Linked DNA regions of Homo sapiens: all the other regions are linked to region 1. Evidence: promoter capture Hi-C in 16 types of primary human blood cells and fetal thymus (Javierre and others, 2016). All regions are on one chromosome and are shown on one strand. Each heading gives the region's core, a stretch centred on a gene start or on the middle of the fragment in contact. The rest is flanking DNA. Distances are from core to core; before and after follow the strand shown.

Region 1 (4,213 bases), core at 689-3,188:
TGTTTTTGATTCAATGATAACCTGCAACTGGACATTATCTATCTATCTATCTATCTATCTCATGGTCCTCAAATAGTGAGTCTTGGGAAGGATGCTATTGCAACAATTAATATTTTTGAGAGAGAAGGTGCCTCATAGCCAGACAGACCTGAGCTGGAATCTTAGCTCTGCTGCTTCTCCATCTGTGTGATCTTGGATACATTATTATTATTATTATTATTATATTATTGAGACAGGGGCTCACTGTCACCCAGGCTGGAGTGCAGTGGCATGATCATGGCTCACTGTAGCCAACACCTTCTGGGCACAAATAATCATCCTGCCTCAGTCTCCCAAGTAGCTGGGATCACAGGCACATGCCACCATGCCTGGCTAATTTTTAAATTTTTTGTAGAGACAGGGTCGTCTCACAATGTTGCCTAAGCTGGTCTCAAACTCCTGGGCTCAAGCCATCCTCCCTGCTTGGCCTCCCAAACTGCTGGGATTACAGGTGTGGGCCACTGTGTCTGTCCTGATAGATATGTTTTTCTACCTATTCGCACCTCAGTTTATTCACTGATAAAAGGGGGCTAACAATATGACTGTGAAGAGTTGTTGATTCAGGGTGGGTGTTTAATAACTATTAGTGGTGCTGATGAGGTCACACCGATAAGTCTGATGCCCATACACTAAAAGTGTTATTCAGAAGGAAGCTGGGGACACATTTCTACAGTCGGAAGCAGAACCAGCTGGGCCCAAATATACTCTATAGATCAAAACAAATCCCAGATCTACCTAGGTGCCCTTGGCAAGTTGCTTAATCTCTCTGTTCCCTTATCTATAAAAGGAAGTTAATAATACCAGTCTCAAGGGGTTGCTTTCAGCATGGAAGAGAGCTTAGCCCAGTACCTGGTACACAAGTGCTCAATGTTAGTGGCTATGATCATCATCACTATTATTATTTCTTGTTGTTGACGATAAGAGGAGACTGCGCCAGAAGACTCTAGAAGTTAGTACGAGGAGGGAGGCAGGGTCCTGGGAGGCAAGTGATCTTTTGTAAGCCACTCCTGCCCCATCAGTGCTGTGCCAACATCGGCGGGTCATTGTATCTACTCTTTTCTTTCCCGGGGAGTGGGAGTCACGTTTTAAAGAGATCCAGAAAACTGCTGTGTGTCTACTCCTCCTCAATTCCCACGTGCATTGATTTTATTTGGTGGCGATGTGAGATGTTGGGCTTGCACTGAGGATCCCCGAGCCTGCAGGCCACTGGGGAAACAGACTTCCTGAAGCCTCATTTTTCTTACTTGTAAATGGGGGCTAATTTAATTATAGAGGGTTATTGGAAAGATTATATACTATTAGATAGGTGAACAGGCATTCAGTAAATATTGACTAAATCTGAGTATACTACTTACCAGTTTGTAGTCTAGACTACAATCGCCTGGAAGGAAGGTACCACTTCTTTCTCATCCCTCACAGCGCTGAGCCCAGTGCCTGGCACTTAGTAAGCACTCAGTAAATATTTGTTGTATTGAAGAGCCATTAAAGTGACTTGAGGAATGGAAAATAGAATTCGAGAGGAAGGCGCAGGAATTGTTTATCAAGAACGGAAAGGACCGAAGAGTAACTTTAATAATGTTTCTTATACGGCCGACATTAACTATCTCTATAATCGCCCCTCCTCCTCCCCCAAAAGAGAGACAGAAATTGTAAGGGAGAGGCTTTGAGATAAAACCCCAGGAAGAACTTCCCGAGTCTGTGCATGTTGGGGCAGAAAGAGCGGCAGAGCCAACTCCTTCCCTGGTATGTCCGGGTTTAGGGAGGGAGGGGCAGTGCTGCTTGGAGGCTGGGGGAAGGACGAGATGACCTTTCAAAATCTCTTCCAGTCTCCTGTTGGAATCCTCTGTGCGCCCCACCCCCGCTCCCTCCCTTCCTCCCTCCCTCCGACAGCGCCCCCCGTCTCCAAACCGCCCGCACCCCGCCCCTGGCGGCCGCCTCTCGCGGCTCCCGGGGTCCCCAGCTCCCTGTCCCCGGAGCCAGAGCCCGGCTCCCGCGCGGCTCCCAGCCCCGCCGCGCCGCCCCCCGCATGCTAATGGCCGGGCCGCCTCCCGCCGCACACAATGCGGGCCAGGGCCGGGGGCGGGGGACCGGGGAGGGGGCGGGGGCCGGGCCGGGGGCGGGGGGGCCGGGGCCCGGCGCATCTCCCCCGGCCCCACGTAACGCTGACGCCCGCGCCGCCGGCCCGCCGCCCGCCGCCGCCGCCGCCGCCGCCGCCCGCTCCGCCGCCGCCCGCCCGGGGCTCGTGAGTAGCCGCTCCCCCGACTCCCGGGCCCCCCCGTCCGCCACCCGGCCCCCGCCCCCGGCCCCCTCCCCCCTCCCGGAGGGGGGGCCCGCTCAGCGCGCCCGGCTCGGAGCAGGTGCAGGGGGCGGGGGCGGGGGAGGGGCGCCGGCTCGGCCCCAAGCAAACTTCGCCCAGAGCTCCTGGGGGGGCGGGGTGGGGGTGGCGGCCTCGGAAGCCTGGAGAGCTGGGGGGCCCCAAGGGAGGGGGGGCCAGGTGGAAGAGCTGGGGGAGCAGACACCAAAGGGAAGGGCCAACGGGGGGGATGTGGCGGGGGAGGTGGCGGGTGTCTTTGTAGGGGCCCGAAGGCAGGGCGCGAGGGACCTGGGGGTGAGGGGCGGCAGAGCCGCGAGCCTGAGTGGATGTGCACCCCCCAACCCCCGGCCCAGGTAGGGCTGGTGGGGGAGGGGGAAGGAGCCCAAACTCTCTGGAAGCACGGGGTGGCGGGGGAGGGGAAAGGATGGGGGGTGCTTCCCTCTTTGCGTCCCAAACAAAGTGTCACAAAGAGCTCGGCCCGCGGCAGCAGCGGAGGCGGCTGTAACTCAGCTTTTGTTCTCCTGGCCGGGGGTAGCTGAGCCTTGGCCTCCCTATCTCCCAACCCTGCCCCCCATCATCCTTCTGGCTTATCTTCCTGGGGAGGGGTCTGGGGTGCTGCTGGAAAAACCTCTCCGGCAGGATAGCAGGTCCTACCCTACTTAGCAATCTATTTCTGGGAGGGGGATTTTCCCAGAGGCTCCCTTGATCGCCCCTACCTCCCAGTCTGAGGACCGAGGCTCACGTGGGTGCTAAGACTGACTTTTCTAGGGTCAGCTCCACTTAAAGGGACTTAGGGCTGGCTACATGCCCCTCTTTCCCAAACCCAGGTCTTCCAGAACTTTCAAAATCAAAATCGGGGTTGCGTTAGGACATGCCTCTGGGATAAGATTCCCCATGGTGGGATGGCAGCAGGTGAGCAGGTGTGCCTTCCTCTCGCCTCCTGCTGTACCTTTGAAGTCCATGGCTGAGGTTCCATGTCCCTAACTCAGGAGAGTGAGGACAGAGGGAAGGAGGCTTTACCAAGATCTCAGTCTAAAAAGGCTGGTGAGCTGCAGAGTGGAGCGGGTTAGGAGGAGCTATCTGAGCAGTGAGGTTCAGAGGGCCATGGAGAGGAGACCATAAAAGTGAACTACTGGTGTGTCTGTGTGATCAAGGTAGTCTTTTGAACGTAGACCGCCCTAGAAGCTCCCTTTCCTTTTAACCCCATCTAGTGCAGTGGTAATCATAATTGTTAGCAGATTTGGGAGGTCTAGGATTCTCAAGAGGGAAAACCATCGTGTTAGAGGTGACCAGAGGCAGTTACAACTGGACCCCAGAAGTCCTGAACCCTTGCTCCTTACACTTTGACCCTAAAAACTTTTGAATCACAAGACTTGAGGGACAGTCTTTGTGGTCCATTTAGCAAATACTTCTATGTACCTGTCCTTGTTGTTTCTAAGTCTTTTCACCAACCATTCCATCCTTCTCTACTGAGTAAGGTTTAGTGGTCCACACCCACTTCCCTACCAGCTGCCCCAGCATGTAAGGATAATTGGCCTACTGCTTTTGAAAGGTTTCTGATATCTATCCCTGGCCCCGCATCCTTATAGAATCCAAATAAGGGCAAGATAACCCCTGATTCCCAGTGGGGGTGGAAAGTAGGTCAGTGCTGCTGTCTGGCCAAGTCTCGAGGATGGTGTTTAAGGCCTGACTATAGAAAACTCTGTGATTATTGTCCAGGGGCAATATATGCATGACCTCGGTTCCAAGGCAGTTCATAGTATCCCAGTCCCTGTCAGTTCTTTCCCCTACTGAGAAAAAAATCATGGGATCAGGTGTCTGGAACCTGGTTTGATATGGAGATGATTCAGATCTTCATTG
Region 2 (3,870 bases), core at 1,371-3,870, 670 kb after region 1:
TGTGCCACGACACCCAACCAGTTTCCTTATTTTAAAGGGAATAATTGAATTAGATTATTTTGAAGTTCTCAAGTTTCAGATCTCATGATTCTACAAATTACACCAAGAACAGGAGAGGGTTATGCAGAGAAAAGCTGGGACGCACGGAAAACATTAAACACTAAATCTTAGGCAAGAGGAGACAGCAATCCGATGAGGTTGGATTACAGCCATTCCCGAGTGGTGCCACTTTCCCAGCAAAATCTAACAGAATGGCTGACAGTCTTGGCTCTTGATTGTAAAGAATTTTATTTTGTCACGATATAGACAGACCTATATAAGTTGCTTGTTGGTCATTTCCCATTTATTTTGTGCTCCTCTTAGCAAATGCTTTCCTCTCAACCTGATCCATGAAGACTCTTTTTCTGACTCATCTGACCAAAAAGACTAAAGCAATGTTTATCTAAGTGTCTTCAGGCCACTAACATGAGAATCACATAGGGTTACTTGAAGTGTTACAATACAAATTTCTAGGGTCTCCGTCCAGAACTGCTGAATCAGAATCTCTGGGAGTGGACTGCTGAAACCTGCATTTTAACAACTACCCCATGGTATTCTGATGCACACCACAGTTTGGTCTGTAGCAGTGGGTGGCTTGGAGGGCCAAACTTAGAGTTTGGCCAAACTTAGAGTACCAAGTTGGGGTAATGCCTATCGGTCTTGCAATACTTTGAGTCCTCCTCTATTCCTTCTCCCCTCCTGCAGTGCACCGAGCCGCCCTGGCCTGTGGCAGTGAGTTCTTTGGGGCCATGCTCCTGAGCGGGATGAGGGAATCCCAGGGCACAGAGGTATCTCTGCGGACGATCTCCACCCAGGACCTGCGACTCCTCGTCTCTTTTGCTTACTCCGGAGTTGTGCGGGCAAGGTGGCCAGGGCTACTGAGAGCTGCCCAGGCTGCTCTGCAGTACCAGAGCTCTTCCTGCTTGGATTTGTGTCAGAAAGGCTTGGCACGGGGCCTCAGCCCTGCCCGTTGCCTGGCCCTGTTCCCCATGGCGGAAGCCCCTGGGTTGGAGAGGCTCTGGAGCAAAGCCCGTCACTACCTCCTCACCCACCTGCCTGCTGTAGCCTTGTGTCCTGCTTTCCCTTCTTTACCAGCTGCCTGCTTGGCTGAGCTCCTGGATAGTGATGAGCTCCATGTGCAGGAGGAGTTTGAGGCCTTTGTGGCTGCACGGTGTTGGCTGGCTGCCAACCCCGAGACCCAGGAGTCAGAGGCCAAGGCCCTGCTGCGATGTGTCCGCTTTGGCCGCATGTCCACCAGGGAGTTGCGGAGGGTGCGGGCAGCCGGGCTACTTCCACCCCTGACCCCAGATCTGTTGCACCAGCTGATGGTAGAGGCTGATGTTCCAGGCCAAGAGAGACGGAGGGAGCCTGACCGGGCACTGGTAGTGATTGGCGGGGATGGGCTCAGACCAGACATGGCCCTAAGACAACCATCCCGAGCAGTGTGGTGGGCCCGGGCCTTCCGCTGTGGCGTGGGACTGGTACGAACTGTTGAGTGGGGGCAGCTGCCTGCCCTGCCTGCCCCCGGACGCTTCCGGCATGGGGCTGCAAGCCTGGCAGGAAGTGAACTCTATGTGTGTGGGGGACAAGATTTCTACAGTCACTCCAACACCCTGGCTTCAACTCTCAGGTATAAGCTTCTAGGAGTGGGCAGGGTGTGGCAGGCCCTAAGGTGGGCAGGGAGAGAAATTGCTGGCCTAGCCAACCACGGATGCCCAGAGTCCCTCTTCCAATCTCTTGTCCTACTGTGTCCAGGTGGGAGCCCAGTCAAGAGGACTGGGAGGAGATGGCTCCTTTGTCCCAGGCTCGAAGCCTTTTCTCCTTGGTGGCACTGGATGGAAAACTTTATGCCCTGGGTGGAAGACACAATGATGTTGCCCTGGACTCTGTGGAGACCTACAACCCTGAGCTCAATGTCTGGAGGTAAGCAGGCAAGGGGGCATCTGGGAGAGATTAGGAGACTTGGAATAGAAGGAGAGTTGAAGATGCTAGTTGCCTTATCTTGTGTCCTGTTCTCCCTTAGGCCAGCACCTGCACTTCCAGCACCATGTTTTGCCCACGCAGCTGCGATTTTGGAGGGCCAGTTGTACGTGAGCGGTGGCTGTGGTGGGACTGGCCAATACCTGGCCTCACTGATGCACTATGACCCCAAACTTGAGAAGCCAGGGACGTTTCTGAGCCCTATGGGGGTACCTCGGGCTGGCCATGTCATGGCTGCATTGGGTGGGAGGTTGTATGTGGCAGGTGGGCTGGGTGAGACTGAGGACCTGCTAAGCTTTGAGGCCTATGAACTAAGGACTGATAGCTGGACTCACCTGGCACCCCTACCCTCCCCCCATGTGGGGGCTGCAAGTGCTGTGCTGCAGGGGGAGCTACTGGTGCTCGGGGGCTACAGTCACCGTACTTATGCCCTCTCTCACCTTATCCATGCCTACTGTCCTGGCCTGGGCCGATGGCTCTGCCTGGGAACTCTGCCAAGGCCTCGGGCTGAGATGCCTGCCTGCATCCTGACACTGCCCGCTGTGCAGCACATAGCTTTGGTTCCCACCCCACACCAAACCAAACCTGCTGGGTGAAGAGGGAGCAACAGTGTATGGGGAGAGGAGGGCATAAGAAATAGCCTGAGAGAAGGACAGAGATTGTGGGGAGTGAAAAGAGGCTTTATTCTTGGTAGTATTTTATTCTCACACTGTGCATTGTAAACTGCTTTTGTACGTATGATCTCCGTTGAGGAAATGGTGGTTCCAGAACTCCTAGGGAAAACATATAGGGAAAGGGGAGGCAGCTGAATACCCAGGTGAGGAAAGGAGACTCGGGAGCAACTCCACAAGGCTTAGGGATTCTTAGGGAAAGGGCATCTAGTTTGAAAGAGAGTTAAGAAGCTTCAGTAGCCAAAGTGTAGAGACCATGGGAGGACAGTTGGAAAAATGGTTCTGACCCATGGATCATGGGAAAAATGTGGAATGGCCATCCATGAAAGAGTTTGAGGAGTGTAGGAGTAAGGACTGTAAATCGTTCAGCCCTTTTTTTCCTGGAACTTGCTCCTTTCTCCTCTCCCACCCCTGGGATGCCTAAACCTTCTTAACAATATTCTCTCCCGGGTAACTTTGTAGGCCTGGTCTAGCGTTTCCCAGCGAGACACCACAGGCTGCCCCTGAGAACCTCTTGGTTTCCTTCTGAGGCAGAAGCTCCCACATGGACATGCACGGCACAGGGGCCTGAGAGGCCTGACGGGCCCCCCAGGGCCATGTGGCAGGAGTGTTGTGTGGGAAAGATGATGGGGGCAGAGGCCAAGGAGGGAGAGGCCCACAGTGGAAAAACAGATGATCTGAGGTTTAAGGAGATGGGGTGGAAGAAGTCAGAAGCCTGTGTGCCTTCTTTCTTTTGGGCAAACTGAGGAATCAGGAGTGAAAATGAGACCGTTGTTGCCTGAGGTCTCAAGTGGTGAGAGGATGTGGGGGGAGAGAAGAGTGAGAAGCAGACAAGACTCAGAAAAGTCATTTCCCCCTTTCAGTTCCTTTCCCCCAGAGTTATTTTTAAATCCATTTCCCTTTATCTTGGCCAGGGAAGGTAGTCAGGTGCTTCCTCTTTCTCTCTTCCCCCATCCTGCTCTCCCCACTGCCTCTCTTTTTTCTTTCTCTTCTTTCTCCCTCACACAGTTATTAATTACCTACTGTGTGGCAGGCACTGTAGGAGGCACCAAGATACAGAGGTCAGAGAGCTCCTGACCAGCAGATAGACATAAACAAATACAAATTTTGAGTGGACTTACATGTATGGACGAGTCTTGCGAGAGCCCAGAGGATAGAGCAGTGAACTCTGCTCAGGAAG
Region 3 (4,052 bases), core at 1,110-3,609, 770 kb after region 1:
TGGAAATGCTCTATGTTTGTACTGCCAATTTAGCTATTGAGTAATGAAAATGTGACTAGGGTAATGGGAGAAATTTAATTTTTAACTCTAATTAAGTGGTTACTTATTGGACATGCAACTTTAAGGTCCACTTGTGACCCACTCTTTTTGCTTCATGAAGCCTTCCTTGACCAATCCTACTTCTTTTCTTAACCTTACTTGCTTTCTACTACTTATTTGGTGGTATGTTAATTTCTGTGAGTCTTGTCTTTCTGGCTAGATTGTATCTGAGGTTATGGATTTTTAAATCTCCACACTGCTGCATGAAAAAGAACATAATGATGAAAGTATAACTGCAGTATTTTTAGCTAACAAGTTTTAGATGATCATTACAAGTAAATACAAAAAATTTTCTAGCTAGTAATTAGGTGAAGAGTAGGGAATAGTGTGAAGGTTGCCTGCAAAGATGAACTGCGTATCTAGTATGTATTTGACCTGAAAGTTCAGATGACACGCAAATGCTGGAAGAGGAAATTAAAGCAAGACTCTTTCTTACACTGCCATCTTGTGGCAGACTTGGGTTACAAATGTTACTAATTCAATTTTCCTATATAAAGGGAAGATTTTCTTCAGATTATTTTGACAAAGGATTACGAAGAGTAAAGGTTAAATACAATCCGGCATTGGCTCAAATGAAATTGAAACATGCTTTGAAAAAACTGACTATTTTGGATTATTTTCTCAGTTATCTGAATCTTAAAAGTTCTTGACTCCTTCCTCTTGCATAACTGTTTTCTTACTGTGAGGTTGTTGACCTTTATAGCCTTTCAGAAGTTGGTTAGACTATTGTGCAGTTTTATCCAAGCTTGTAAATTTATACAAAATTAAGCTTGTGTAGGGGTCCTGCTCGGTTTTTTTTTGTTGTTGTTGTTAAATTTTTTTTGTTTTGTTCGAGACGGGGTCTTACTCTGTTGCCTAGGCTGGAGTACAGTGGCACGATCACAGCTCACTGTAACCTTGAACTCCTGATCCTGCCCTATTTGATATTGAGCTTGGGCATTTGGTGACATTCTCCAAATAGATGAGTCAATAATTTATATTAATGAATGGAGAGTTAAATAAAGGATGAACGGTTACTCTAAATTTTCTTGTGACTTGGTATAGAACATGCTGGTGTGAGTTGTCATGTAATCATAACCTTTGTGAATTTATTTATGTTTTTTAAATTTTCCAGAAATGATCCTAGATAATTGATAGATCCTGTGGTTCAACTGGATTTCTAGATAGAAGCTGGATTCATGTGATGCCAGAGGTAAGAGTAAGAGCAAAATCTTCGTTTTTACCTCATTTGGATTTCTAATCACTTAGCAAGACTTGGGACTCGGTGTTATTAGTGGATGGAATTTGGTAATTAAAAAAAATCCCCAGTTCTAACCTTAGGAGAATTTTCCTGTTTAGGGATGAGGAGCCAGTGCTGGTTTGCCCTTCCTCAGTCATTTACAGTTTGCCATGATGAAATGCATGTTAAGTCCGTGTTTCAGCTGATCAGCCTGATTAAACACATGCTCTGAGCAGACTAAAGCTAGGGGCAAACACCTGCAATTGAATTCTGCTTGTTGGAATTCATACTGGGATTTAGTCTGTAATCCCAGGTAATTCTTAAATCTTAATAAATTATGAATTTGAGACTAATGTTTTGTTGTGCTTTGATCTTTTGTGATATCTCTATATCCCCAAAAAATCACTTTTGTGAGTTAGAACTAGGGTCAGGAATCATTAATCTAAAAGTTCAAACACTACAGAAAAAGCACTGGCAACTGGTATAATTCTATAGGCAATTTAGCCTGGCAGTTTTAAACTAATCATTATTTTATCAATCTATACATGTAGATTAAAGGAAACACAGAGTTGGTTAAATCAATTTTGTGAAGACTATACGGTACAACACTATAGAATCACTTAAAAGTTATGATACAGTTTTATGTTTATTGAAATAGAACGGTATTCATGACACATGAAAAACAGATTATATAGAGCAATATGTTTCTGCTTAAATATTTTTATATGCATATGTTTGCTTAAGAAAACTGAAAGGACATATATACTAAAATACTAGGGGGTTATTTTCTCTAGAATTGGGTTCTACAAGTAATCTTTTATTATTATAAACCTATTTTCTAATTTTATTGTATTCATGTATTGTAATATTTTAAAAGTTATTTTAGGTAACTTAGGACAAGCTTATATTCTTTACCCGTGCCTGCATTTTCAGCAGAGAATTAGGTAGAAAGAAGGGTGAAATACAGGAAATACAAACAACTCAAAGTAACATCAGGACTTGAAATAATTTTTTAGCTTTTGTTGTCTTTTGCAGGAGTAAAATTTCAAGAGACTGAAACCAGATCTGAGTTTCGCTGTTCCAGTCTGGACCTCTTTGGTGCTGTAAATCCTGGATATACTGTAGATGAGTACTGCGTTTTTCTTTTATGGTAAGGCTTACGTTGAGATTGAGAAGCTTTGCCATATATATGAGTCTTTGAAAATTCAGGTTTGTGACTTCATGGCCAGCTGCTAAGGTGCTATAAATTTCACTTTTTTTTTTTTTTTGAGACGGAGTCTTGCTCTGTCGCCCAGGCTGGAGTGCAGTGGCGGGATCTCGGCTCACTGCAAGCTCCGCCTCCCGGGTTCACGCCATTCTCCTGCCTCAGCCTCCCAAGTAGCTGGGACTACAGTTGCCCGCCACTACGCCCGGCTAATTTTTTGTATTTTTAGTAGAGACGGGGTTTCACCGTTTTAGCCGGGATGGTCTCGATCTCCTGACCTCGTGATCCGCCCGCCTCGGCCTCCCAAAGTGCTGGGATTACAGGCGTGAGCCACCGCGCCCGGCTAAATTTCACTTTTTAAAAGTCAGTTGAGGCCAGGCGTGGTGGCTCACACCTGTAATCCTAGCACTTTGGGAGGCCGAGGTGGGTGGATTGTCTGAGCTCAGGAGTTTGAGACCAGACTGGCCAACATGGCAAAACCCCATCTCTACTAAAAAAATACAAAAAATTATCTGGGCCTGGTGGTGTGCGCCTGTAGTCCCAGCTACTCAGGAGGCTGAGGCTTGAACCCAGGAGGTGGAAGTTTTAGTAAGCAGAGAGAGCGCAACTATACTCCAGCCTGGGTGATAGGGAGATTCCGTCTCCAAAAAAAAGAGTCAATTAAAGATGTTGAGAAGTAGCATTGTATAGTATATATATGGGTTCTGGAGTCAGACTGAGTTCAAACGCATGCTCTATCACTTCACCAGTTATGCAGCATTGGCAAGTTTCCTAATATCTATGTCTTAGTTTTATATTTTAGAGGATGGCAATAGTATTTGACTCAGGGTGGTTATTTTGAAGATTAAATTAGTAAGGGTGTGGGTAAAGCATACGGTAAATGCTCAGTTTGATGTTAACTATTTGTCATCAGAATCCATGCGTATATTTCTCTTAGATTCTGTACTACCTGGCAATTTTTGACATCTGCATAATAGATTGACGAAAATTCTTTGTTTTGGCCTGACGTGGTGGCTCATGCCTGTAAACCCAGCACTTTGGGAGGCGAGGTGGGCAGATCACCTAAGGTCAGGAGTTCAAGACCAGCCTGGCTAACATGGTGAAACCTCGTTTCTACCAAAAATACAAAAATTAGCTGGGTGTGGTGGCGTGCACCTGTAATCCCAGCTACTTGGGAGGCTGAGGCAGGAGAATCGCTTGAATCTGGGAGGCAGAGGTTGTGGTGAGCTGAGATCGCACCACTGCACTCCAGCTTGGGTGACAGAGCTAGACTTCGTCTCAGAAAAAAAGAGGAAATTCTTTGTTTTTATTGCTCATATATCTTTCTGTTAATTAGACTACCCCTCATTACCTTCACCCCGCCCCTCAAAACTTAATTAAGTTCTAGAATTAGTCATAGGCACTATAATGTGTATCTTTATATAATTGTTGGAATAACATTTTCTTTAGTTGGTTAATCTTGATTTTGGTACTAACTTGTTATCTAGTTCCTCATTTTCCCTTGCTGGATCAGTTGATCCTTAATGATCT

What was found. The method cuts DNA at HindIII sites, captures the fragments that hold promoters and counts their contacts. A CHiCAGO score of 5 or more calls a contact.
Region 2: a contact is called between a fragment that was not itself captured here and the fragment with the promoter of ZNF219 in region 1, in 1 of 17 cell types (monocytes). The highest score is 6.3, in monocytes.
Region 3: a contact is called between a fragment that was not itself captured here and the fragment with the promoter of ZNF219 in region 1, in 1 of 17 cell types (total B cells). The highest score is 5.4, in total B cells.

The regions. Positions count from the first base shown.
Region 1 is chr14:21,096,380-21,100,592 of GRCh38, reverse strand. ZNF219 (zinc finger protein 219) reads left to right here and starts at 1,938. Exons shown (of 5, transcript NM_016423.3): 1 at 1,938-2,281. It also overlaps a transcript of TMEM253 not described here. RefSeq lists enhancers at 1,756-2,256, 3,016-3,517. The HindIII fragment of the contact is 7,101 bases long and covers 1-4,213 here.
Region 2 is chr14:20,427,594-20,431,463 of GRCh38, reverse strand. It overlaps KLHL33 (kelch like family member 33), which reads left to right. Exons shown (of 5, transcript NM_001365790.2): 3 at 745-1,669; 4 at 1,795-1,962; 5 at 2,063-3,870. The coding sequence ends at 2,615. Among named protein-coding and RNA genes, the nearest start is that of KLHL33, 6.6 kb to the left of the region's middle. RefSeq lists an enhancer at 1,838-2,470. The HindIII fragment of the contact is 607 bases long and covers 2,317-2,923 here.
Region 3 is chr14:20,323,955-20,328,006 of GRCh38, reverse strand. CCNB1IP1 (cyclin B1 interacting protein 1) reads left to right here. Exons shown (of 7, transcript NM_021178.5): 3 at 1,214-1,291; 4 at 2,354-2,468. It overlaps SNORD126 (small nucleolar RNA, C/D box 126), which reads left to right and starts at 1,468; the gene lies at 1,468-1,566. The HindIII fragment of the contact is 275 bases long and covers 2,222-2,496 here.